Regions from separate parts of the Homo sapiens genome. Here regions 1, 2, 3 and 5 are each linked to region 4. Evidence: promoter capture Hi-C in 16 types of primary human blood cells and fetal thymus (Javierre and others, 2016). All regions are on one chromosome and are shown on one strand. Each heading gives the region's core, a stretch centred on a gene start or on the middle of the fragment in contact. The rest is flanking DNA. Distances are from core to core; before and after follow the strand shown. Region 1 overlaps CYRIB (CYFIP related Rac1 interactor B). Region 2 overlaps CYRIB (CYFIP related Rac1 interactor B). Region 3 has its middle 28 kb from the start of GSDMC. Region 4 holds the start of ASAP1 (ArfGAP with SH3 domain, ankyrin repeat and PH domain 1). Region 5 overlaps CYRIB (CYFIP related Rac1 interactor B).

Region 1 (4,898 bases), core at 2,201-4,700, 580 kb after region 4:
AGCTGGGTGTGGTGGCGCGTGCCTGTAGTCCCAGCTACTTGGGAGGCTGAGGCAGGAGAATCACTTGAACCTGGGAGGCAGAGGTTGTAGAGAGCCGAGATCACGCCACTGCACTTCAGCCTGGGCAACAGAGTGAGACGCTCTCTCAAAAAAAAAAATATTCAACACTCCTAGATTCAATATTCTATATTTTATGGATTATACCAGTGTTTCCTATGTTTGCTAAAGCCTACATTTTAATGTAAAAATGAACCTTTTTTTTTTTTTAACTCTAACTATTTTTATTCTTTGGATTTTGAAGGCAATCCAGCATCCAGCAGATGAGAAGTTGCAAGAGAAGGCATGGGGTGCAGTTGTTCCACTAGTAGGCAAATTAAAGAAATTTTACGAATTTTCTCAGAGGTTAGGTAAGTTGAAAGTTTTGTAATTGTGACTTCCCTAGTGAAAAAGATGTTTATTCATTCCAGAAGTTTAGAGTTTTTTTATGTTCATAATGCTGAATTTGGCTTAGTATCTGTTTTATAAGTAAAGCAAGCTTGTTAGACTGTAAGATTATAGTTAATCTTCTTTCAACCCTGGCCTTTTAATTCATTTAGACCATTTTTGTCCACAAGTTATTTTCCTCATCATCTGTCGTTTTACATACATGAATCTGAGCATTGATTTTAAATGATTTTAAGAACACAAAAGTTTGACTAACCAAGGGCCTGAGGATTACTTTCCCATATATGGGAAAAGGACTTACTGTAGCGATGGAGAGAGATTCTACCAAGTGATTTCTCATAATAGGACCCTTTAGCATCCAAAGAAATCAAAGAGGTTTTCTTGAAATTTTTACTGGTTACGCTTAATTCATGTATCTAAAACTGTAGAAGATGAGAAATAGGCTGGGTGTGCTTGCTCATTTCTGTAATCCCAACACTTGGAGGCTGAGGTTGGGAGATTGCTTGAGCTCAGGAGTTCGAGACCAGCCTGGGCAACATGGCAAAATCCCGTCTCAAAAAAAAAAAAAACAACAAACAAACAAAAATAAGCTGAGTGTGGTGGCACATGCTTGTGGTCTCATCTACTCTGGAGGCTGAGGTGGGAGGATCACCTGAGTCCAGGAGGTCAAGGCTGCAGTAGCTGTGATCACACCACTGCACTCCAGCCTGGGCGACAAAGTGAGACCCTGTCTCAAAAAAGAAAGAAAGAAATAGAAAGCTAATGATATACCCAAAGTTGTCTAGGGAGTTATTAAAGCAAAAAGAGTTCAAAACAGTTTGCTTTTTCCCTTGCTTGGGAAAAATTATTCAAAGGTCAGAATTGTGTCTTCAATATGAGTAAGCAAAATTGGAACTCCCTTTATTGGAGGAGGAGGAGGCAGAGCAGGTAAGATTTAGCCAGTTAGCTCTTTGTTTGATTTTAAAGTTGTAAATGTGAAGCACTTTATTTTGTACAGTGAATAGACACAGGAGAGGAATAGTATAGATGTGTGTCAGAAATTAGGACGATTTGAATGTAGTTAAAACACGTACTTCCATATAGTTTGAATTTTTGAAATGTATAAACATTACAAATTAATCATAAGAAAATCATACTGTGATTGTTTTTTAAATACATAAGCCAGAAACCAGGGGGTATATACTGTAAGACTGAAGTCAAACTGGGGACCCAAAAGCTAAATTTAGACTTGAGAGATGTGATTTGTCTGGCCCACATAATTTTGAAAATTTCTACTTAGTTGCCAGGTTTAACACTTGGTCACTGTATGGTTTTTTTTTTTTTTTTCTTTAAGCCTCCAACTAGCAATAATTGATCTGCATGTTAGAGAGCCAGAACCACATGGCAAACCATCTCTGCCTCCATTAGTTAGGACTTGTGCTTTCTAGTTTGTAATAAGTTTTTATTGCTTCATGTTTTTTAATATCTTACTATATTTATATTTGCTATTTGGCCATTTGTATTTGTAACTTCTGAAGTTGAAGTTCCATTTTTTAAAAATGCCTATGTTCTTAAAAAAAAGTAAGACAGTTGCTGTTTTTCCTTTAGATGCAGTACAGCCTGTTAAATGTAATGTTAAGACAGACAGTAGTTTGGATAGAAATATTGTATAAATTATCTTTTTCTTACTGGAAATAAGAATTGTAATTTATTTTCCCAATTTTAGTATTAGTTATTTTACAGTATTTGTCTTTCAATCAAGAGTCTCTATAGTTTGTAGCTTTGCACTTTATAACCCAATCAGCCTAGGTTTTCTGTCTTGGTTGTCTTCTCTACTATATACAGCTTTTCTTACGCTGGTTTCTGGCTGCATTTATAGTTAAATTGCTTTTGATGGTGCTCAGATGCTATTCAAGCTCATCTTGGTCTTTTAGCATATCCCAATACACAAAGAATAATTGTAAAATAGGCCAAACTAGTTGGACTTAAGTGTTATATTTTTACCATGGGAATTAATCGGTCTCGTGGTGTGTGTCCCATCATGGGTGCTATTCCAGCACAAACAGCACCATGGAGCAGCATGCAACTATGAAGACACACATGATCCTTCAGAATCTTGCAGTTCTAAGGAGAAGGTTTCTTGGCCTGAGCACTACAGATACACCATGGGTTATACTTCAGAAGAAGGACCCTGATCCCTTGCCAGTTTGCATACTTACAATGGGACAGGGCAAGGATTACCTGCTTAATTTGAAGATACTCAGTTTTGCTGACAGGGTTTAACTACACTGCCCTGGTAAATGTGGGCGGCAAGCCACCCAGGTGCCGAGGCAAGAGACCGAGGACACGAGTTGTTCCAGTATAATAAAATATGAAACAAGAATAGTTATACCAGATATAGATCTTAGATATGATTACATATGAATATCATTAATCATTAATTGGTACAATTACTCTTTATTCCAATATTATAATAATCCTCGCTCTATAATCATAACCTAGGAAAAGCCAGGCCATACAGAGATAGGAGCTGAGGGGACATAGTGAGGAGTGACCAGAAGACAAGAGTGCGAGCCTTCTGTTATGCCCAGGCAGGGCCACCAGAGGCCTCCTTAGTCTAGCGGTGACACCAGCGTCTGGGAAGATGGCCGTTGCCAAGCGGACTGTGGTCTAGCGGTAGCCTCAGTGTCAAGGAAAAACACCCGCTACTTAGCAGACTGGGAAAGGGAGTCTCCCTTTCCCCGGGGGAGTTTAGAGAAGACTCTGCTCCTCCACCTCCTGTGGAGGGCCTGACATTAGTCAGGCCCACCTGCAGTTATCCGGAGGCCTAACCATCTCCCTGTGATGCTGAGCTTCAGTGGTCGCGCTCCTAGTCCGCCTTTATGTTCCATCTTGTACACCTGGCTCTGCCGTTTAGTTAGCAGTAGCAAATTAGTGAAAGTACTAAAAGTCCCTGATAAGCAGAAATAATAATGTAAGCTGTTTCGCTCTTTCTCCTCTCTCTCTCTGCCTTGGCTGCCAGGCAGGGAAGGGCCCCCTGTCCAGTGGACATGTGACCCATGTGGCCTTCCCTATCATTGGAGATGGCTCACACTCCTTATCCTGCCCCTTCGTCTTGTATCCAATAAATATCAGTGCAGCCTAGCATTCGGGGCCACTACCGGTCTCTGCGTCTTGGTGGTAGTGGTCCCCCGGGCCCAGCTGTCTTTTCTTTTATCTTTGTCTTGTGTCTTTATTTCTACACTCTCTCGTCTCTGCACACGGGGAGAAACCCACCGACCCTGTGGGGCTGGACCCTACAGTAAACTTGCCATACTTGCTTGTTCTGTACTTGCTTGTTTTGTTCTGAGGCCTTGGAGCCCCTCCTGTTGAGGCAGATACCTAAGGGAAGGTTGTATGGTCAGGTAGTAGGACAAACTGCTTTGTCTCCCCTCAGTCTTGCTCATGCTTTAGGGGCTTACATTAGGGACTGCCTCCAAGGGTCATAATAAGTCCCTTCAACATGTTAGCTTCGTTTCACTGGGCAGAATTTATCAAAATGTATTTTAAAGGCCCCAAATGCCCACCGTTAATTGTGGTCATGACTCTTGGTTGTCTTAAATCCTTTAGAATCCATGTCCTCAGGTTCTCTTCTGAGAGTTTGAGAGTAGATAGATGGCAGTTGATGAGAATAAACGACTGTTGTCTCTATAGGGAAACTCTCCCCAGGGGCCTCCTCTTCCTAATCAACTAGTTATTCTTCCCTGTCCTAGCTTGTGGACTGATTTGTCATCTTTATCATTCCTTCTAGTTGTCTTTTCCTTGCAACCTCCTTCTGTGGTTTTGGCTCCTGCACTCATCTGCCAGCTTCCTTTGGTTCTTCCAGAACTTAGGGCTTAATAGACTATTAATTTTCTCCTGGTCATCTGCTTTTTAAAAAATCATAATCTCATGGTTTTGTTTTAGGAGCTTCATCTGAGTCCAATCCCAGGCATCTTTTCTTTGTCCTCTCTTTCTCTCCAACTCATCCAGAGACCTCTGGGACATTTTCTGTGGGATTGTCTCCAGTTTCTCTCTTGAGACAGAGCATTGTAGGCTAGTAGGACTGACTTGTGCCAGCACAGGCCTGCAGGGTGAGGCTGATCTAGCTGCTTCAAAGGCAGATTAGCAGATTTATCATCTTGAGCTTCCCTTTCAACATAGATCTACCATGGAGGGCCTCAGCCATTCATAGACAAAAGTTCTGCAACTACTGGTCACTGACCATCCCAACTTAGTCAAGCGACCTGACTCCAGTCCCAAAAGTGGTAGAGAACTTGGAATGCTGAAATTAACCCTGAGACTTGATAAAGTCTAGGCAGATGCATTTTTCTTTTTTTCTTTAACAGACTATAATAATATTTTGTAAAAATGTTTTTTTCTGTTCGGTGTCTCTCTTACTTAGTTTTCCAGTTAACACCAACAGAAAGAATGAATCTTGGGAGAAGTAAACCATT
Region 2 (5,132 bases), core at 1,362-3,861, 530 kb after region 4:
GATGGATGAATGGTATTGGTATGTATTAATACATAAACTTCTTTAAGATCAGCGCTTAAATCTTAAACAGTTTGGTGTTTCTAGAACCTAGTACAATATCTGCCACATGGTGGATATTTGATCTGTGTTGCTAATAATAGCTACAACTAAGTGAATGTTTGTGATTTTTCCTAAGCAGTAAACATGCATTCTCATTGAATCTTATTTAATGCTTGCAACAGTGCTGTAAGGTCTGTTAACTCCATTTGACAAATGAGGAAACTAATGCTTACTAGCTGTGTGATCCTGAGTTATGGTAATTGTCAGAACTAGGATTCAAACTGGTATTTGACTGGTTTCAAAGCCTCTAGACTAAAACTTTTCTACCTATATATGCTATGCTGTTTCCCTTCGTTGTAAAATACTTAAGCACTGCATATTAAATAGGGTACAAAAGACTTGAGAAACAAATTTTATCTTCCCTCAGTTATACAACTAACATCTGCAGCCAATGAGTAGCAGTGTACTATTGGATGAAAATGCTTTAGAATTATAGGGATTGATGTGGGCTGGAGTCCTCGGGAAAAGCCTGTTGAAAGCAGGAATAGCTTTAAATTGGCCCTTTAAGGATAAGAATCTTTTTAGAAGGAAGAAAGGAATGCCTTTTTAGGAGGAAACAGATTTCAGTACTGGAATGGGCATAGGCTGTTAGGGGGCTCTGCTCTAGTAGCATGTTTATTAGGAGTAGCCTGAAATCAGAATGGATATTCATTCCTAAGTGTGCCAGTTTGAGAATGTATCCTGAAGAGTATTGGGAGCTATTAGAAGTTTTTTTTTTTTAATAGAGCAGTGATGAGATAAAATTAGTGTCTCTTATAGTGCTTGACTAATATTAGGTACTCAGGTATTTGTGTGATAGAAATAAAGTGGGGAGAGAACTACAGAAGTAGGTTAACCATTTAGGAGATTATTGCAGTAGTTAGGAGTGAGAGCATAAAAATCTGAGCTACGGAAATGACAAAGAATAAATATGAATTTAGGAGAAATTGAAAGCAGAGGAATAGAAGCCTTTGTAGAAGAAAGTTGGATAGAATTTCATTTCAGAAGAAAGTAGAATAGAAGATTTGCATTTTATTACTGACTCTGCCCAAATTTAACCTTTCTGGGTCTCAACTTTCCCATTTGTGAAATGGAATTGGGACAAGATATGATTTTAAATTGAAATCATAAAGCTTATTTTTAGCTTTAAAACTTTTGTCTCTATGGGCTTTTTTCTTTTATTGAACTATTTCAGAGATCACCTATATATCAGATTTCAAAGTTAAAATATAAATACGAATGTAATAAGATGTCTTAAGTTCTAAAGCTTGAGTGAGATAGTTCTTCTGGAGACTCTAGGCATTAGATCCTCTAGATTACAGAGTAAATACATACCTTAGAGTAATGTGGATCTTGGAAAATGCAATTTCTCAGGCTTGACCCACAAAATTTAGTGGGTTGTGGCAAGCCTGAGAATCCACATTTTTGGCAGATGCAGATGGTCCATGGACCATTTTTAAAAGTTTTATTAAGCATACAGTTTGTGGAGCTTCAACATAGTTAATCACCTATGAAACCATCACCACAATCAAGATAATGAACATAATCACCTTCAAAGTTTTTTCCTGCCTGCTTCAAATCTATCCACCCTACCTGCCCCTAGACGCCAGTCAACCACCTGTGCCCTTTCTGTCCTTATATTAGTTTGCGTTTCCTAGAATCTTACTTTTTTATTAATTAATTTTTTTAGAAACAGGGTCTCACTGTGTTGCCCAGACTTAACTCCTAGAATCTTATATATGAGGACTCATACAATATATATTCTTTTATATCTGGCTTCTTCAACTCAGCATAGTGATTTTGAGATTTATATTTATTGTTGGATGTGTGAGTAGCTTGTTTCTTTTATTGCTGAATAGTATTCTAGCATATGGAAATACCACAGTCTGTCCATTCATTTGTTGATGAACATTTGGGTTGCTTGCAGTTTGAGACTACTACAAGTAAAGTGCTATGAACATTAGTGTATGATTCTTTGTATGAACATAATGCTTTCATTTTTCTTGGATGAATACGTAGATGGAATGACTGTGTCATATTGAAGGTGTATATTTAACTTTTTAAAGTGGCTTTGCACAAGTGTATAGGAATTCATTTGCACTGTATTCTCACCAGCCCTTGGTATGGTCATTTACAGTATTTTTTTAGCCATCTGGTATGTTTTCAGTTTGTATTTCTCTAGTGCCCGATGGTGTTGAGCATCTTTTCAAGTGCTTATTTGCAGTCCATTTAACTTTGGTGAATTATCTGTTGAAATCTTTTGCCTGTTTTTAGATTCAGTTGCTTTCCTTCTTAGGTTGTGAAAGTTGTGTATACAGGCAGTTCTCATTTTGTGCTGTGGAATGTAAAAATACTTGTGCAGACTTAAATTTTGCAAAGCAATCTTAGAAATTATGTTGTTCATGATTTTTAGAAATTTTCGTCAAAACATAACTCTCATTGTTGCAAAATGTATAGGGAAATGGATAAAACAGTAAAACTAGTATTTACTTAGTACAGTGTAATTTAAACCTTGAAAACTAAAGTGTTTTATTTATTTGTAAAAATCTTTTCAAGAGTAATTAGAACTGTGCCTGGTTTCTTCTTCCCTGTTGTACAGTGTGGAGTGAGCATCATTTCTAGGCCTTGGACAAGTTGTTAATACTTCTAAATTTGAATCAGCTTCAAACATTTTATCCATTACATTGTGAATATCAAGAAGTATATGTAAAAGTTCCTTTAATATGAAGGATTTTTGCTGGCATGACTTCCTCTGAGACATTGTCATCCTTTTCACCATAACCACTCTCTTATGTTGATCAGTTTACCTTCAGAAGGTTCCTCTGGCTGCATATTTAGTCTCCCTGTTGGCAGCGGTGTCACCATTCTCACAGTCAACTCTTTCTTTTGTAACTCCATTTATATTCCATTAGAATTTTATTTCCAGCATTATCGCTTTTGTTTCTTTGCTTCACTTTCGTCTTTGTTGGCAAATCCTCTCCTTCAGTTGCCCATTTAAAAAAAAAGTATCTCATGGATTTGTCACTGGGGACAGGGAAGTAACACAGGACAGCTACTGCTCTGCAGCCTGTACATTTAGTGAATAACAGGTATGCAGTGACTAGTGACTCACTTTAAAAGAAGTGATATGATTGGTCATGGATCAGGATATAAAAAATTGGAGAAAAGGATAAAACTATAAAGAATTCTGTATTTTCAGTACCTTCATTTCTCATTACATTTAAAAAAGACAAAAACTAGACATTTTAGAAAAAGTGTATTTATGGTTATGGTCTATACAATAGTAATAATGATAATAACATCAACTTTCATTTATAGAGTCCTTATCTGGCAGGGACAGTTTTAAATGCTAGACATATTCTTATTTAATCTTCATAATAACCCAATTAGGTGGTAGGTATTAATATTATCCCCACTAGAGAGAGAGAAACTTGTCCAAGGGTGAGGCTCACAGTTTGGCTCCAGAGCCCGTGCTTTATTTATACTAGTGCTACTCAAAGCGCACTTTGCAAACCAGCACTGGTCCATGAACTGTTCACACGTAGTCTGTGAAGAATTGGAATTTCCACTTTGTAAGTTTTTAAAAATTAAATATTTTTCTCCTCTGGTAATTTCTACAAAAACATTGGATCATAGTGGCTGGAAAATACTCTAGCAATGGCTTGTCATTGAAGAATGTGCTTTGGTTTTCTTAAAAAAGGATTAGCTAATGAATGCACGTGTATGTATTTTAAATGTTTCTATCAATAATTGCAATTAATTGAACAACTTCTAGTTCTGATTATTATGGAAAAGCTTTTACTGTAATTACAACACTGTGGGGAAAGACAAGGTTTATCTCAAGAGCTTCTGCTTATGTAGGCATGATTTTGAAAGTGGAGCAGATTCCAGGGGTGGCTCACGCCTGTAATCCCAGCACTTTGGGAGGCTGAGGCAGGTGGATCATGAGGTCAGAAGTTCAAGACCATCCTGGCTAACACGGTGAAACCCTGTCTCTACTAAAAATACAAAAAATTAGCCGGGCGTGGTGGCCGGCGCCTGTAGTCCCAGCTACGTGGGAGGCTGAGGCCGGAGAATGATGTGATCCCAGGAGGCGGAGCTTGCAGTGAGCCTAGATCATGCCACTGCACTCCAGCCTGGGTGACAGAGCAGTCTCCGTCTCAAAAAAAAAAAAAAAAAAAGTGAAGCAGATTCCTGAAAGTCATGGTATTGCATTGTAGGATTCACTTTTGCGCTTTGTATTTAAATTTATCAGCAGTAGAGATAACTTTAACAGCAGTAGAGAACACACTTGTTTTCTGTCACCGTAAACATGACACACAGATTAGGAATTCACTGAATCATTTTACCTGAACCACTCTTTAATATGCCTTCATTAGTTCATCCTGTTGATTATCATATAGAATTGTTTGAAAAAAAAATGACTTGCAAGAAAAGAAAGCCCCAGCCTGGGCATCCTAATAAGACCCTGTCTCTAAAATAAAAAAATAAAAATAAAGGCAAATTTAAAAAACCCAAGTCTTTGTTTTCATTGAAATGCACCTTCTCTGTTCCCAGTCCTCCCCTTCCCCCAACCCCAGAGTGCATCTGTGCATCTTTTGAGGTAATTATATGGCTTTTTTCTTTTAATCTGTTAGGGTGGTGAAAACAGTAGGTATTCTGAACCAACCTTGCACTTCTCAGGTAAGCCAAACTTGGTCATAATTAAAAAAAAAAAAAAACTTTGTAATTTCAGATAACTGCAGCATTGGACTAGAGGTGGAGAGAGTGGTACTGGGGGAGTGGTGAAGCAGGTGAGAAGCTGGAAGGAATGGTCATTTCAGTGCTAGTGCAGTTTGCAACTTCAGATAATTTTGGAGCATATATATATATATTTAGCAGGATGTATAAATTCAACTATTTGATCTTTTATGAAATCGAACCTGGGGTAAATTTGGAGCGTGTATATATATAAACTGTAAAGCTTTATTTGCCTTATGTTATTACCTCTGTTTGTATTTACCATTCCTTTAAAATTATGTGTGTAAATGTTATAAGGGGGTTTGAACATGTGG
Region 3 (4,648 bases), core at 1,700-4,199, 630 kb after region 4:
ACCTAGCTCAAAGAAAAAAAAAAAAAATGAGAGAGCCCAAGGGACTTCTGAGATACCATCAAGTAGAAGAATCTAAATAAATATACACTGAGAAACATTATCTCAAGTTGTCAGAGGCCTCTTCTGAATTTTCTTGTGAAAAAAATTTAAAAATTGTCAAAAGTCAAAGATAGAGACAGAATTTTTAAAGCAGCAAGACAAAAGCAAATCATCATGTACAAGGAAACCACGACAGGATAATCAGTGGATTCATTAACAGGAATATTGGAGGCCAGAAATGAGTGGGATGATATAGTCAAAGTCCTGGAAGAAAAAAACACTGCCAACAAATAATGCTATATCTGGCAAAAGTGTCTTTCAAAAATGAAGAAGAATATTTTGCTCCAGATAGCTGACTATAAGCAGTTAGTGTGTTCCTCTTTTATGGAGAGAAAACTAAGTGGCAACTAAATTTTAGCTCTTTAAGTGAACCATCTAAGAGATCATGCTGGGATTCACCAAGGAAGCAATGGGATCCATGAACAACAGAGAGGAATGAAGCTAGGTGGCTGCCCAACTGGAACGGGGGTAGAGCTGGGGGAAGCTCCCTAATGCGGGAATGATTCCCCAGTGTATTCGCCCTTCTGCCATAAAACTTTACAATTCTGGGCATAGGAAAGCCACCCTGACTCCCCTGGGTTTCCAGACCAACACAGAGTGCTGTCTGGAGTCTGTGTAGAGGCACTGCTCAAGACCATATGTAGCCCTATGGGCTTTTGATCCCTGAGCAGCCCAGCACCAGCTGACATAGCCCCACCAATAAGGAAGGACAAGCTCTGTTGCATGCTCCTAGGATAGATGCTACAGTCATGGTACTGAATAGTAGACAGACTGTGTGACCCTCCTCACCACTGCTGCTCCTCATTAGGCAAGACCTGCTAGCTTGGGCTCCCAGTGCAGCCACCCCATCCCCACCTGAACACTGCAGTTGGTTGTGGCTCTGTGTTCCTGTGGGACCAACTTTCCCAGAGGTAGCTGACAAGCCCTTCATAATCACCTTTGCCAATGCAGCTGCCCCTGCTACACTCAGGCCAGGGAGGAAACAAGAAGATGGGGCATTTTTGTTCACCATCAGCCCTGATGTCACAGCCAAGAAACAGAGGAACAATGGGGAGACTGCGCACCCCACAACTCCCTACCCATTTATTGGGTTGAATGATGAGGTCCTGTCCTGAAACCATTCTAATAGAGAGTCACAAAACAGGCATTTTTTCATGGCTCTTAACCACATTGTGGTCTAGAAGTAGACTACAGTGTGCTCTGACCTAGAAGTCATGAGCTCCAGAACAGGGGTGTGATAGGGAAACAGATCACATTCTTGCCTATCTAAAAGAAGGAGCCTGTGCAGCCTCTACTCCCCCTAGAGAGACATCAGTGCATTTCACCAGGAATGCCTCCCAGCCGCTCTCATCAGAGTTGATGTCTGCACTCACTATTGGTGTCTTTGTGGGCAAGCCAGGGGCTCCAGTTCTGTTAAGCTCTGTCCCCCTACATCCTGGGAAGAAGAAGCTCATGGCATCAGGCTATCCACTGTCCAGCCCATCACCTGAAACAACAGAGAGCATCTCATAGTAAACAAAGATCAAGTACTTACACATCTGCCTGGGAAGCAGCTGGCTTTTACTTGTAAGCACTATCTACTGACTTGTAGGCCAAACTGCAAAATCTAATATAAAACCTGCTGACAGAAGTACACAGGGGTATACAAGCAAAGCTGCAAGACCTTACTCAACATATTCTACAGACACACATCCTAGGAAGGGGCAGGAGAAGGAAAAGAAAAAATATATGAAGAAAGAAAAAAAAATCCACCTGTAAGAAAATAATTAGAAAAATTAGAAGTGCTAGCCTCTCCAGATGAGAAGAAACCAGCATAATTCTGGCACCATGAAAAATTTGAAGGCTGTGATACAACTTGTATTAGTCTGCTGCTAATAAACACATACCCGAGACTGGGTAATTTATGATGGAAAGAGGTTTAATTGACTCACAGTTCAGCATGGCTGGGGAGGCCTCAGGAAACTTAGCAATCATGGTGGAAGTGTAAGCAAGCAAGCCCTTCTTCACATGGCAGCAGGAAGAGAAGTGCCAAGCAAAGGGAGAAAAGCCCCTTTTGAACCATCAGATCTCATGAGAACTCACTATCATGAGAACAGCAGCATGGGGGTAATTGCCCCCATTCAATTACCTCCCACTAGGTCCCTCTCACAACACGTGGGGATTATGGGAACTACAATTCAAGATGAGATTTGGGTGGGGACCCAGCCAAACCGTATCACCACTAAAGGATCACACTAGCACTCTAGCAATGTTCCTAACCAAAGTGGAAACCCAGAAATGTTAGATAAAGAATTCAAAGCATGGATTATAAGGAAGCTCAATGAGATCAAAATTAATATGAAGAAACTACTAAGGCAATTCGGGAAATGAAAGACAAGAAAGATAAACATCATAAAAAGTCAGCCAGAAATTCTGGAGTTGAAAACTCTCACTTAAGGAATTATTTTGAAAGCTTTCTCAATAGACTAGACCAAGCAGAAGAAAGAATTTTAGCGCTTGAAGACCAATCTTTTGAACTAAACCAGTCAGATAAAAAATAAATAATTTTAAAATATTAACAAAGTCTTTGAGAAATATAGGATTATGTAAGGCAACCAAACCTATGAATTATTGGCATTCCTGAGAGAGGAGAAAAAGTAAACAACCTGGATAACAGATTTGAGGGAATAATTCAAGAAAAATTTCCTCATCTTGCTAGAGAGGGAGACATCATATATAAGAAATCCAGATTGGGAGGCTGAGGTGGGCAGATCACGAGGTCAGGAGTTCAAGACCAGCCTTGCCAACATGGTGAGACCCCATCTCCACTAAAAATACAAAAAATTAGCCAGGCACGGAGGCACATGCCTGTAATCCCAGCTACTCGGGAGGCTGAGGCAGGAGAATAGCTTGAACCCAGGAGGCGGAGATTACAGTGAGCTGAGATTGCGCCATTGCACTCCAGCCTGGGTGACACAGCAAGACTCTGTCTCAAGCAAAAAAAAAATCGAGAGGATACCTGCAAGATACTATACAAGATGAACATCACCAAGGCATATAGTCACCAGACTATCCAAGGTCAATGCTAAAGAAAAAATATTAAAGGCAGCTAGAGAAGAGAGTCAGATCACTTACGAGGGGAACCTCATCAGGCTACCAGTAGATTTCTCAGCAGAAACCTTACAAGCTGCAAGAGTTTGGGGGTGTATTTTCATCATCCTTAAAAGAAATTCCAAACAAGAATGTCATATCCCGTCAAATTAAGCTTTATAAGTGAAGGAGAAATAAAATCTTTTCCAGATGAGTAAATGCTAAGGGAATTCATTACCACTAGACCAGTCATACAAAAGATCATCAGGGAGTTCTAAACATGGAAATGAAAGAACAATACCTGCTACTGCAAAAACACACTTAAGTACATTTACAGATCCTATTAAGCAACTTCACAATCAAGACTACATAGCAACCAGTTAACAGCACAACTGGATCAAAACCTCACATATGAATATTAATCTTGAAGGTGAATAGTCTAAATATTCCTCTTAAAAGATACATAGTGGCAGCTATTGTCAAGAGACTCATCTCACAGTAACAACCTCCACTGGCTCAAAGTAAAGGCTTGGAGAAAGATTTATCATGCAAATGGAAAAACAAAAAAACAGCAGGGGCCACTGTTCTTATATCACGTAAAACTGACTTAAACCAACAACAACCAAGAAGTACAAAGAAGGGCATTACATAATGATAAAGGGTTCAATACAATAAAAAGACTTAACTTTCTTAAATATATATGTACTCACCATTGGTGCATCTAAATTAAAAAAACAAGTACTTCTAGACCTATAAAAAGATTTTGATAGCCACACAATAATAGTGGGGGACTTCAACACTCCCCTGACAGCATTAGATTATTGAGGCAGGAAACTAACAAATTCTGGACTTAAATTTGACACTTGACTAATTGGACCTAATAGAAATCTACAGAATATTCCACCCAGCTACCCAGATTATATATTCTTCTCATCTGCATATGGAACATACTCTAAGATTGCCCACATGCTTGGTGATAAAGCAACTCTCAATAAATTCAAAAAAATTGAAATCACACTGAACACACTCTTGGACCATAGTGGAATAAAAATAGAAATCAATACCAAGAAGATCTCTCATAACCACACAATTACGTGGAAATTAAACAACTTGCTCCTGAATGACTTTTGGGTAAACAACAAAATTAGGGCAGAAATCAAAAAAATTTTTGAAATAAATGAAAACAGAGACACTTATATCCACATCTCTGGGATGCAGTAAAGGCAGCGTTAAGAGGAAAGTTTATCATGCTAAAACACCTACATCAGGAAGTCAGATAGATCTCAAATTAACAATCTAAAATTGCAAGTAAAGGAATTAGAAAAGCAAGAACAAACTAACCCAAAGAAATAACCAAAGCAGAGCAGAAATGAGTGAAATTAAGACCTAAAAATTCATACAAAGGATTGATGAAATAAAAACTTTATTCTTTGAAAAGGATAAACAAGACTGATAGACTGCTAGGCAGAATAACAAAGAA
Region 4 (5,284 bases), core at 316-2,815:
GCTGACTTCTGGGCTGTGAGCTGCGTGCCAAGAACAGCCATACAAGGGTTCTTCCAGGCAGAGGGGACGGCAGCTACAGTGGGCCTGGAGCAGGACCCTGGGACTCCTGGTGCCCAGCTCAGAGCTGTCCTACTGCTTCTGGCCACGGAGAGAGAATTGCAGAAAAGGAACAATGCTGGGTCTAAAACTGGTATCTGTTCCTTACTTGGAGTAAACGAGCTGGTACCCAACTTTCAGTTCCCAGCAGGTTCATTTCAGGCTTCTGTTTTCGCTCATGAGCATGTTGTTCCCTCTTCAAAGTCTGATTGGGTTTCAAAGGAATCTGAAACACTTACAGCAAAACCACCAAGCTGCATCCTCCAGGTAGACACCCCCGAAATGTGGCATTTCCGTGGGAAACCACAATGAATCACTCATTGGCTGCCCGACCTCTCTGCCCAGTCAGAGATTGATTTTGGTTTTCCCAAACTTTGTAAATCCGCTCCAGACTGTTTAACAACCCCCACTCCCCACTACACCCAGACTCTCAGATTAGGAGCAAAATCCCAAATTTTGTGAGGTTTTCTGTTTCGGATTTCACCAGAAGGGGGTCTGCCACAGCCACTAACCATTTCCTCTGCAGAGAGCCGTTTCTGAAATGCTGCAAAGAAAAACAATCACCCAATGATTAGGAGGGAAATTAAGTTCTAAAGAAAGACTACTGTCTCTGACTTTGAAAGTAGACATAGATATGCACAATATACATCCCACAAATTAAAATCCTCCTTTCTCTGATGTCTTTTAATGGTAATAATAAGGACAAGCATGGCTATCATTTATTTGGGCGTTTCCAATGTGCCAGTCCCTGTCTAAACATTCAGCTTCCAGATCAAACCTATGAGGGTGGAATTAACATCCATTTCATAAATGGAAACTGAGGCTCAGGAAAGTTGAGCGAGTTACTCAAGGTAACATGAGTAGAAAAAAGGCCATATTCCAACCGGACACAGAGCCTGCAGCCCACACAATTACTCTCCATACTGTTCCTATACTATCCTGACTGGGAAGGTCCTGTTCCCTTGGCACTGGGCAAAAATAAAATTATAAGAGCAGAGAGGAAGTGGTGAAAGGGGGCAGCCTGGTGAAATCATTCCTTTACTGAAAATAGGGGTAACGGCCAGGACAGTGCAGGTCCATCCTCTGCAGATGGAAGACAGGCACGTCCTTTGCCGCTGTCCCGGCCTTAGAAAGGCACCTTCCGCGTCCAGGGTTTTCTGTGGATAAATCCCACCCCTTCCACCTCAGGCGGGGAGGAGGCCGGCCGGCCGGGGCATGGGGCGGAAGGCGAAGGACGCCCGACCCCGGCCGAGGTCTGGGGCCCCTCCCACGCCCCCCTCGTGGCTGCCGGCGGGCCAAGGGTTAAGCGAGGCGGGAGCCCCCGGCGCGGAGCGGCTCGGGGCCGGGAATGCTTAGTCAGGATTCCGATTTCCTGTCGAAGTGTTTGGATTTCCTGAAACCCGCGCCCTCCGCCGCCGAGCGGGATCGTGCGAGCCGCTCGCGTCGCCGCGGCCTCCTCCCCCTCGGCACATGGTCGCCCGCCCCTTCCTGCGCCGCGCTCGGCTCCCGCGCCTCGCCTGGCCTGGCCGCTGCCGCGGGCGAGCACTGTGCGCTGGGCAGCCCCGGGCCCGCGCCTCCCGCCCAGCCGGCGCTTCCCGGTCGCAGTTCGCTTTCCCACCCGAGAGCCGCGAGCGCCCGGCCGAACCCGCGATGGAATAATGCCCAGCGGCCCGCCAGGTCCCGGTGAGTTGCGGGGCGCTCGGGCGCGCTCGGCGGGGCCGGGCGGAGTCGCCCACAGTCGCGGGCGCCCCCTGCCCAGTCTCTCGCGCGAAGAAGGGCGCCGGGACGGGGCGCGGGGCGGGCTCCCGGCTCCTCTCGCAGCGGGGTGTCCTTCTCCGCGGGGAGGGCGCCGGCCCTGGGCTGGGGCGTGTGCGGGACGCGCGGCCAGGCTCTGCGGGGCCGGGCGAGGCCGCCCGGTGGGGGGGGGAGGTCTCCTCGCCTCCAGCTCGGGAGAGGGGGCCCCTGCAGTGGGGCCGGGGACGGGGCCCGCCCTGGGGGGTTTCGCGTCCCCCTCCGGGGGAGGGCCCGGGACGACGTGCTTGGCGGCCCGGACCCCGCCGATGGGGCGCCCTCCCGGCATTGTCTCTGGTGCAGCCGAGGAAAGTTCCCCGCGGCCCCCGGCCCCTACCCGGACCCGGCGCTGCTTGGCAGGCCCCAGGCCACTTGCCTAAAGCAAAAGAAGAGAAACGAAAGGGAAGGGGGTGGGGGGAGTCCTACTTGGAGCTTGGGGTTGGCTCCTGGGCGGACCGTGAAGTGGCTTGTGTTTTCTGCTTGTACCATTTTGGGACCTGCTGCGTTTTCTGAGAGCGACATGAAGTTTCAAAGAAAAAAGAAACTTGCCGGTGTCCGGTTTTCTGCGGTTTGATACATCCCAAGAGGTTCATCTTGGGCACTTCTAAAGCAGTTTCCTTTAATAATGTGGTTTTCCAGTAGCTCAGGGAGAAGGATGGTCAACTGCAGACCATCATCGTTAACTTGACCTCAACTTTACCTGTACTCGTCAGGAAAGCAAAAGAACTTTCTCTCGCATTTTCCCCTGTCTACTCTGTTAGGTTATCTTGGCGTGATTGATTCTGGGATGACATCAGGACCTGGATTGCTGAGTAATGTTTTGGGATTGTAAAAGCTTATCAGTTTTTAGGCCAGGGTTATCTGTATTGCAACCTTCATCCCAAAGCCTTTCTGTTTTGCAATTGTAGCGCGGCCAGATAGCTTTAAGAAAATGCGGGTCTTCTGGAAACACCCAGTGAACAGTTTGGAAAGAAAAAGATCTTTGAGAACAACTGATTCACCCCCTTCAGAGAAGGCCCAGAAAGGTGACCTGACTTGCCCAAGATCACATGGCCAGGAGTAGTTTCCACTTCTTCAGGCTCAGTCCCATGCCCCTTCTGTGTTAGATTTTGATCTGTTAGCCATGAAACAGATTTGGAAACGTCTTCTTTGCGTCACAGCCTTCACCACTTTAGTGCCTTCTCTTCTGTCCTGTTAATGCTGCTATTTTTGAGATATGCACTTATTTCAAACTGCATATTTTGAGATAGGGAGTTAAAAAAAACAAAAATCACCTAACGCCACTAAGTGGATTTGGAGATTCAGCTACCAAATGGATTTGAAGTATAAAATGAGTGGCTTATTATACGGGGAATTACTTTCCCTATCCCATTCTTTTGTGCAAAATAGAAACTCCCAGGTCCAAAAAAGGGCAGTATCTTAGCACATAATGTACCCTCTGATGTTCTCTAGACTTGATTTTCAGCCCTCCTGTTTCTTGTGAGCTAAGCAGCCCATCTATTTTTCTCATGAGAGCTCTGAATGGCTGGTTTTTCATTTTTAGTATGTGATAATGTTGGAGAGAAAGGACTTTTCGCAAGCTTGCCATTTGGTGAGGGAAATTGAAATTCTCTACACCTCCCCAGTCCTCACCAGCCACAGCGAGCCAGATTTTCAAAATCAGTGCAAGCCTGGCAGGCCCAAAGATGAATGTGTGCATTCAGATTGAGCCCTCCCTTGTGAAGACTCACGTCCCAGCTGGCATCTCCATGCTGCACCTAGGTGACTGAAGTCTAGAGGAAAGAAGGGAACCCCAGTTAGCTAGGACAGTGTTGTTCCTGCCATTTCCCCACCTAGGTCTCAGCCGTATTTGGATCCTGCTGCTCGGTTCTCATTTTTCCCTGCCGTTTTTTCACCCAACCACTGCTGTATCTGGCATGGGCTCCGGAAGGTCTTTTCTAGGAGACTGCATGAGTGATCCCCACGTGAGCAATAGTAACAGTCACCCCATTTATTAAGCACTTGCTGTATGCCCTAGACATGTTACCTCCTAAGAAGTCCTAAGGAGGAGCGGAAACTTCTTGGGGAGCCTTGCCCAGAAAGGACAGCACATCTCAGATTTATCTGGAATCGAGTTTTTCTTTCATGCATCCAGTGAAACATTTGCTAAGTGGCTTCCCTGTGGGAGGTGCCAGTCCTGCAAAGATGAATAGGACCCTGTTCTCAAGGCCTTCTATTTCCAGCCTCATCTTTCAATGTCAGCCTCACACTTTCTCTTTTAATTCATCAATTGAACAACCATGCATTGAGCACCTGCGCCATGCTAAGCCCTGTGTGGAGTCCTGATGATACAGTGGTGGACGAAATAGACCTGGCACTGCCCTTCTGGAGCTTGCATTCCTCTGGAGGAGATGAGCAACAAGGAAGAAGCAGAAGAAACAACCTCTAACAGATGAGTGATTCCTTGTTATCAAGGAAACAAACCTGGGACCAAAGTAGGGGCTGGTGGCACAAGTTGGTCCTAGTTTTGGAAGGGAAAGCCTTTCTGAGATTGGAAAATGGAGAAGGAACTGGCCAGGCAGAGAGATTGCAGGGGAGGGCCTTCCAGGCAGAGGGATGGGAATGTGCAAAGTTGACTATGCACAAAAGAGCTTGGTGTATTCCAAGGAGTGAGGGAAGGCAGGGCTAGAGTGTAAGGGAGAGATGGGGGGAATGGCGCAAGGTGAGGTTTGAGAGGGAAGCAGGGACGAGATCACACAGCCGATTCTAAGCCATGCTGGGGAGAGTCCCTCCACCCAGTACAAAGGGAAGCTTTGGTGAGTTTAAGCTCAGCAGTGATATCTGATTGACTCTTTTTTTTTTTTTTTTGACAGAGTCTAGGTCTGTTGCCCAGTCTGGAGTGCAGTGGCATGATCTCAGCTCACTGCAACCTCTGCCTCCTGGGTTCAGGTGATTCTCCTGCCTCAGCCTCCTGAGTAGCTGGGATGATAGGCATGCACCACCACACCTGGCTAATTTTTATATTTTTAGTAGAGACGGGGTTTCGCCGTGTTGATCAGGATGGTCTCAAACTCCTGACCTCAGGTGAGCGACCATGGCCAGCCTGATGGACATTTTTGAGATTGCTTTGACTGCTTTTATGAAAAGTGGATGGATCATAGGGGGCAAAGTGTAGAAGCAGGAAGACCACTTAGGAGGAAAGAGGATGGTGGCTTAGAACTGGACAGCAGCAATGGAGGTAGAGAGAAGTGGGAGGAGCCTACTTAGATCTTGGAGATAGCATTGATGAGATCTGGTGATAGATTACATTGGAATGAGGCAAGGGAAAGGACTCAAGGGTGACTCCTGGGGTTCTGGCTTGAACAGCTGGGTGTATGGTGGCGTTGTTGTGGGAGACAGGAAGACTAGGAGGATTATG
Region 5 (4,855 bases), core at 2,141-4,640, 570 kb after region 4:
ATTATAGTCAAGAAAAATCGACCAGGTTTCAGTTATTGTAGGGTACATATTTAAGTATTTCAAATATCAATCTGTTCATGAAGGCCATTCAGAGCTCAGTAATTTGGGCATAATATTAAAAGGTAAGTGTGAACCTAAATTATTTAATCTTTGCAGATAATTTGAAAAGTTAAAAAAATAGAATGTATTTATTTCAGGAATTTATTTTTTCTGACTCTAAATGAAAGGAAAAATAATGGGTTCACAGACCTTTAAGTAATTTGCCTTCTGTTTGTTTTATGTTGCATGACCTATTGTAATATGGTCTAAGAGTGGCAGGTAAGTGTCATTGACCTTGGTGCATGTTGCAAAGCTTTTGCTTTTTTTGGCTGTTGATATCGCTTTAGCTTGTCTGGTTGTTAAATTGAGAAGAATTATTAAATTGGTGTTTTAGTGTGAATGATGCTATTTTAACTGATCAATAGAAAATTGTTAGGAAAGGGTGAAGAGGTATTTCTTAGGTTTTTAATCATGTGATCCCTTATATTTTTAAGTGTTAGAATGTATTTTTATATACTTAAAATTTAAGATGTTTTCTGATTTTAAAAACAAAACAAATAAATCACTTAAACCCCAGAAAGTCACTGCCTTTTCCTCCAACTTCAATTTAGTTTTTACAATTTTATGTAATTCATTCTATTTTATGAATCATTCTAAACCATGGCAGTTCATATGAACACATCAATTTATAGCTATCTCCATTTTGTAGAATAATTTGTGGTCTCTGGTTATTTTCTACTTTTATTCCATTTCTATAAAGGATCTGTTACAGTTTGGGTACTGTGTACAGGCTAGTAAAGAGTAGTAAATCAATATCAGGTCCATGTGAAATTGGGTTTCAGGGGAAATTGGGTTTTTAGGGGAAATACTGTTAAATATTAGATGAATATTAGTTTTCTTGACCCTTCTCAACAATTTACCAGTGCTATGTTAAGTGCATGTTTAGCATGACTTTTAATCAGCTTGAGGATGTCGAGCAGATTGCTGACTTGAAGATATTCTTTCAGATGAGGCAACTTACATTAGAGCTGTATTTTAGTTTATTTGCATCTGTTTCAAACTTGGTCTTGTGTCTTTTTCTGCTATTCTGTCTCCCTTTTCCTCTTTGTCTCAAATTCCTTACATTTACAGAATCTTGACTTTGATAGTCAAGATCTTGTTCAAGACTTGGCACTTGATCTTTTTGTAAACCTAGTATTATGTTATGGTCAAGTGGGAAGCATGAATTTAAATGTAGTATTTAAAAGATTACTTGGTCTTGGCTTTCCAATCTGTGGGAGTGTTTGGATCATTTTATACACACACACACACACACACACACACACACACACCTTTTTTTTTTTTTTGATATGAGGTCTTACCCTGTCACCCAGACTAGAGTGCAGTGGCGCAATCTTAGCTCACTGCAACCTCTGCCTACCTGGCTCAAGGGATCCTCCCACCTCAGCCTCCAGAGTAGCTGGGACTACAGGCACATGCCACCAAGCCCAGCTAATTTTTCATATTTTTGGTAGAGATGGGGTTTCACTCTGTTGCCCAGGCTGGTCTCAAACTCCTGAGCTCAAGTGATCCACCCACCTTGGCCTTCCAAAGTGCTGGGATTACAGGTGTGAGCTACTGCACCTGGTACATTATTATAATTTAATAATAGTGACAGGAAAAGGTAAAAATTGCAAGCAACAATAATAACCAATAATGCAGAAATACATATAAAATGTTAACTGTAAAGGCAGATATTGTTGCCTATATCAGCCAATGTAGATCTTCTGGTTTTATACTTACTGGTATACTATAAATGAAATTTAGTGACAGCATACTGTATACCAAACTAGAGTTTACCCATTGTTATTTCTTATTTAGATTTTTAGATACATTGTCTTTTGATTCTAACATTGGCATTATCTTAATTTAATCTCTGTATATTTTTCTTCTTTTTGGAAATATGCGTTTGTAAAAGCTTACCTTATAAGCTACTATGGTGACCTTGGCCTATCAGATGGGTGTTCTCTTAAACCGTTTTATACTGCTTTATACCAGACTCAAAATTGCCAACATAGTTATCTGCTAATTCTCAATAACTTAAAGCCACATTATTTTTGCTAGAGTAATTAGTACTACATTGTTTATTTCTAGATGCACTTTAATATTCATGTCACCAGAGTAATTTAGTTTTACTGTTTTATTAATCTGATTGATTAAGTCTATCCCAATATGTCTCTGCAGTTGGGTGACCCAATATGTCTCTGCAGTTGGGTGACCCAATATGTCTCTGCAGTTGGGTGACTACAGAAATAATTCATGCAGATTACCTCGCTATTTGTATCATATTATATACAAATGACATACTCTAGTGCATTTGAAATGTAATTTAATGGAATCTTGTAGTTTACAAAATTAAGATTGTCTTTAAAGTAAATCATTATTCCTTTAATTTACTCCTCTCATGACCCCTGTAACTGTTTTTCACTTCAGTTCAACATACATTTATGCCTTGCCTCCTGTATACCAGCCAGTAGGTGCTGGGGTTGCAAAATAACTAAGATACAACCCATACATGCTGGAAGCTCTCAATCTAGTAGGAGAGGATAGACACGAAAGCTCATAATTTTGTTTTGTTTTGTTTTTGAGACAGGGTCAGTCTCTGTCGCCCAGGCTGGAGTGCAGCGGCATGATCTCAGCTCACTGCAGCTTTGACCTCCCAGGCTGAAGTGACCCTTTCACCTCAGTACCCAAAAGTAGCTGGAATTACAGGTGCCCACCTGCCAGAAAACTCAGTTTTACTTAAATTATTTATTTTCAACGTGTAGCTCATGAAGATACTAACTTTAAATGGCAGGGAGTAGATTGAGAATCATCATGGAAGACCTTTTTTTTTTTTTCTTGAGATGGAGTCTCACTCCGTCACCCAAGCTGGAGTGCAATGGCATGATCTTGGCTCACTGCATTCTCCACTTCTGGGTTCAAGTGATTCTCCTACCTCAGCCTCCCGAGTAGCTGGGATTACAGGCATGCAGCACCACACCCAGCTAATTTTTTTATTTTTAGTAGAGATGGGGTTTCACCATGTTGGCCAGGCTGGTCTAAAACTCCTGACCTCAGGTGATCCACCTGCCTCAGCCTCCCAAAGTGCTGGGATTACAGGTGTGGGCCACCACACCTGGCCCATCATGGAAGACTTTCTGATGGTGATGTTTGAATTGGGTTTTGGAGAGTGAATTAGAATGTTTTGAACTAATACAGTAAAGGACAGTAGAAAGAAGGAACAACATGGACAGAGACCTTAAGGCATGAAATGTCATTCTGTATTCAGTTAGACGTTTAGTCTTGATAGAAGGATTTTTTCCTTAGAACAGATTACACCTATATGATAAGATTTTATTTTGTTTTTATTTAATAATAGTTCAGTTAAAATATAAGCCCAAAATTGCTCCATAAAATTTGGCAGCAGTTATGCTATTGACAGCATATAAAAAGCACTCAATCGAGCTAGGTGCAGTGGCTCATGGCTGTAATTCCAGCACTTTGGGAGGCCACAGCAAAAGGATCACTTGATTCAAGGAATTTGAGACCAGTCTGGGCAACATGGCAAGACTCTATCTGTATGAAAAAAAAAATTTTTTAATTAGCTGGGAATAGTGATGTGTGCCCTTGCAGTGAGCTGTGATTTGCTCTACTGCACTCCACCTTGAGTAGCAGAGTGAAACTGTCTTTGAAAAAAAAAAAAAGCACTGAATGGGGGCCTGCATAGCCTCTTCTAGTTGTTGGAATTTCCTATTTTATAACAACAGTGTTAATTTATAGCTTATTCTAATGACAAATCTTTAGCCTCAGTAACTTCCATAACTGCTAGCTCACTAAATTCTAGTTCTTGGGAGAAAAGAGACTTGTATTTAGTTTTGTGTCCTTTCCCAATCTTAGCATAGTGCTTTTTAAATGATAGAAGTTCAGTAAGTATTTTTTAAACTTGACTCACTTACCTCCAGGGAAATCAAAATAGGAGAGTAAATAGAGGTAGTCATTTGTTAAGGGAGAAATAGAGTATATTTTCTCTGATTCTGTTATAGTGCCTTTCCATTGAGTCATGCATTTCCTCTATAGTTCTTGTGTCCTTTGTGTTACTTGTTTCCCCCTTATCATTTAGAAATATTGGGACCTACTCTAACTTATTTTTTCATTTATCTCTTGCATAGTTTCAGTTGGTTTTGCCCTGTACTTTGAAATATCTTTATTCTGGTGTCATCTTTCTTATATTTATTTTTCAAAAATGATATAGGATCATAGTTATTCAGAGATCAAAAAGCATAGTAGTCTCCTTTAATTCATGCCAGAGGCTTATTTATGTCTCTGTACCCTCTCATTCATTCAAAATGTATTACAGAAAATCTAGGTACTGAGTTTACAGATGTACCAGTGGTACATACTGTACATTCTGGTCTCTGTCTTGATGTAACTTACAGAGATAGATTGCGTAGGTTTATTAAGTGAATTAATGTAAAATTAAAGCAGAAAGACCCCTTATCACAATTATAATTTTTATCTTGACTTTTTATTTTTTCATTTCATAGTTAATCTTTGCTTCTTTTTATATTACAACGACTTCAATTTTAGCAGTTATATTGACTCTTTTTCTACCCTCCACCCTATAAGAAATTAGTGTGAAGTTAATAAAATTTTTAATTTACCTTCAATAAGAACAATTGAAACATGCCTTAATTTCCCTTGAACAGCTTTAAAAACTAAGCTTGATGAGTAATGAATATGTCTACCCTCAGTAGTAGATACATTATTTTGCAATTTTGCATGTCCTTTTGTAAGC

What was found. The method cuts DNA at HindIII sites, captures the fragments that hold promoters and counts their contacts. A CHiCAGO score of 5 or more calls a contact.
Region 1: a contact is called between a fragment that was not itself captured here and the fragment with the promoter of ASAP1 in region 4, in 1 of 17 cell types (monocytes). The highest score is 5.1, in monocytes.
Region 2: a contact is called between a fragment that was not itself captured here and the fragment with the promoter of ASAP1 in region 4, in 2 of 17 cell types (non-activated CD4 T cells and neutrophils). The highest score is 5.2, in non-activated CD4 T cells.
Region 3: a contact is called between a fragment that was not itself captured here and the fragment with the promoter of ASAP1 in region 4, in 1 of 17 cell types (total B cells). The highest score is 5.1, in total B cells.
Region 5: a fragment that was not itself captured here is called in contact with the fragment with the promoter of ASAP1 in region 4 in 3 of 17 cell types (naive CD8 T cells, monocytes and total B cells); the score reaches 6.5 in naive CD8 T cells.

What each region holds. Positions count from the first base shown.
Region 1 is chr8:129,857,738-129,862,635 of GRCh38, reverse strand. It overlaps CYRIB (CYFIP related Rac1 interactor B), which reads left to right. Exons shown (of 14, transcript NM_001353258.2): 7 at 302-407. Among named protein-coding and RNA genes, the nearest start is that of GSDMC, 74 kb to the right of the region's middle. The HindIII fragment of the contact is 5,826 bases long and covers 538-4,898 here.
Region 2 is chr8:129,912,099-129,917,230 of GRCh38, reverse strand. All of the region lies in intron 2 of CYRIB (CYFIP related Rac1 interactor B), which reads left to right. Among named protein-coding and RNA genes, the nearest start is that of MIR5194, 94 kb to the left of the region's middle. The HindIII fragment of the contact is 2,528 bases long and covers 1,348-3,875 here.
Region 3 is chr8:129,812,624-129,817,271 of GRCh38, reverse strand. No RefSeq gene overlaps it. Among named protein-coding and RNA genes, the nearest start is that of GSDMC, 28 kb to the right of the region's middle. The HindIII fragment of the contact is 792 bases long and covers 2,554-3,345 here.
Region 4 is chr8:130,439,955-130,445,238 of GRCh38, reverse strand. ASAP1 (ArfGAP with SH3 domain, ankyrin repeat and PH domain 1) reads left to right here and starts at 1,565. Exons shown (of 30, transcript NM_018482.4): 1 at 1,565-1,779. RefSeq lists silencers at 1,481-1,580, 1,621-1,710, 1,721-1,880, 1,931-2,010. The HindIII fragment of the contact is 9,673 bases long and covers 1-2,724 here.
Region 5 is chr8:129,874,179-129,879,033 of GRCh38, reverse strand. The region is part of intron 5 of CYRIB (CYFIP related Rac1 interactor B); the gene reads left to right. Among named protein-coding and RNA genes, the nearest start is that of GSDMC, 90 kb to the right of the region's middle. The HindIII fragment of the contact is 2,784 bases long and covers 1,999-4,782 here.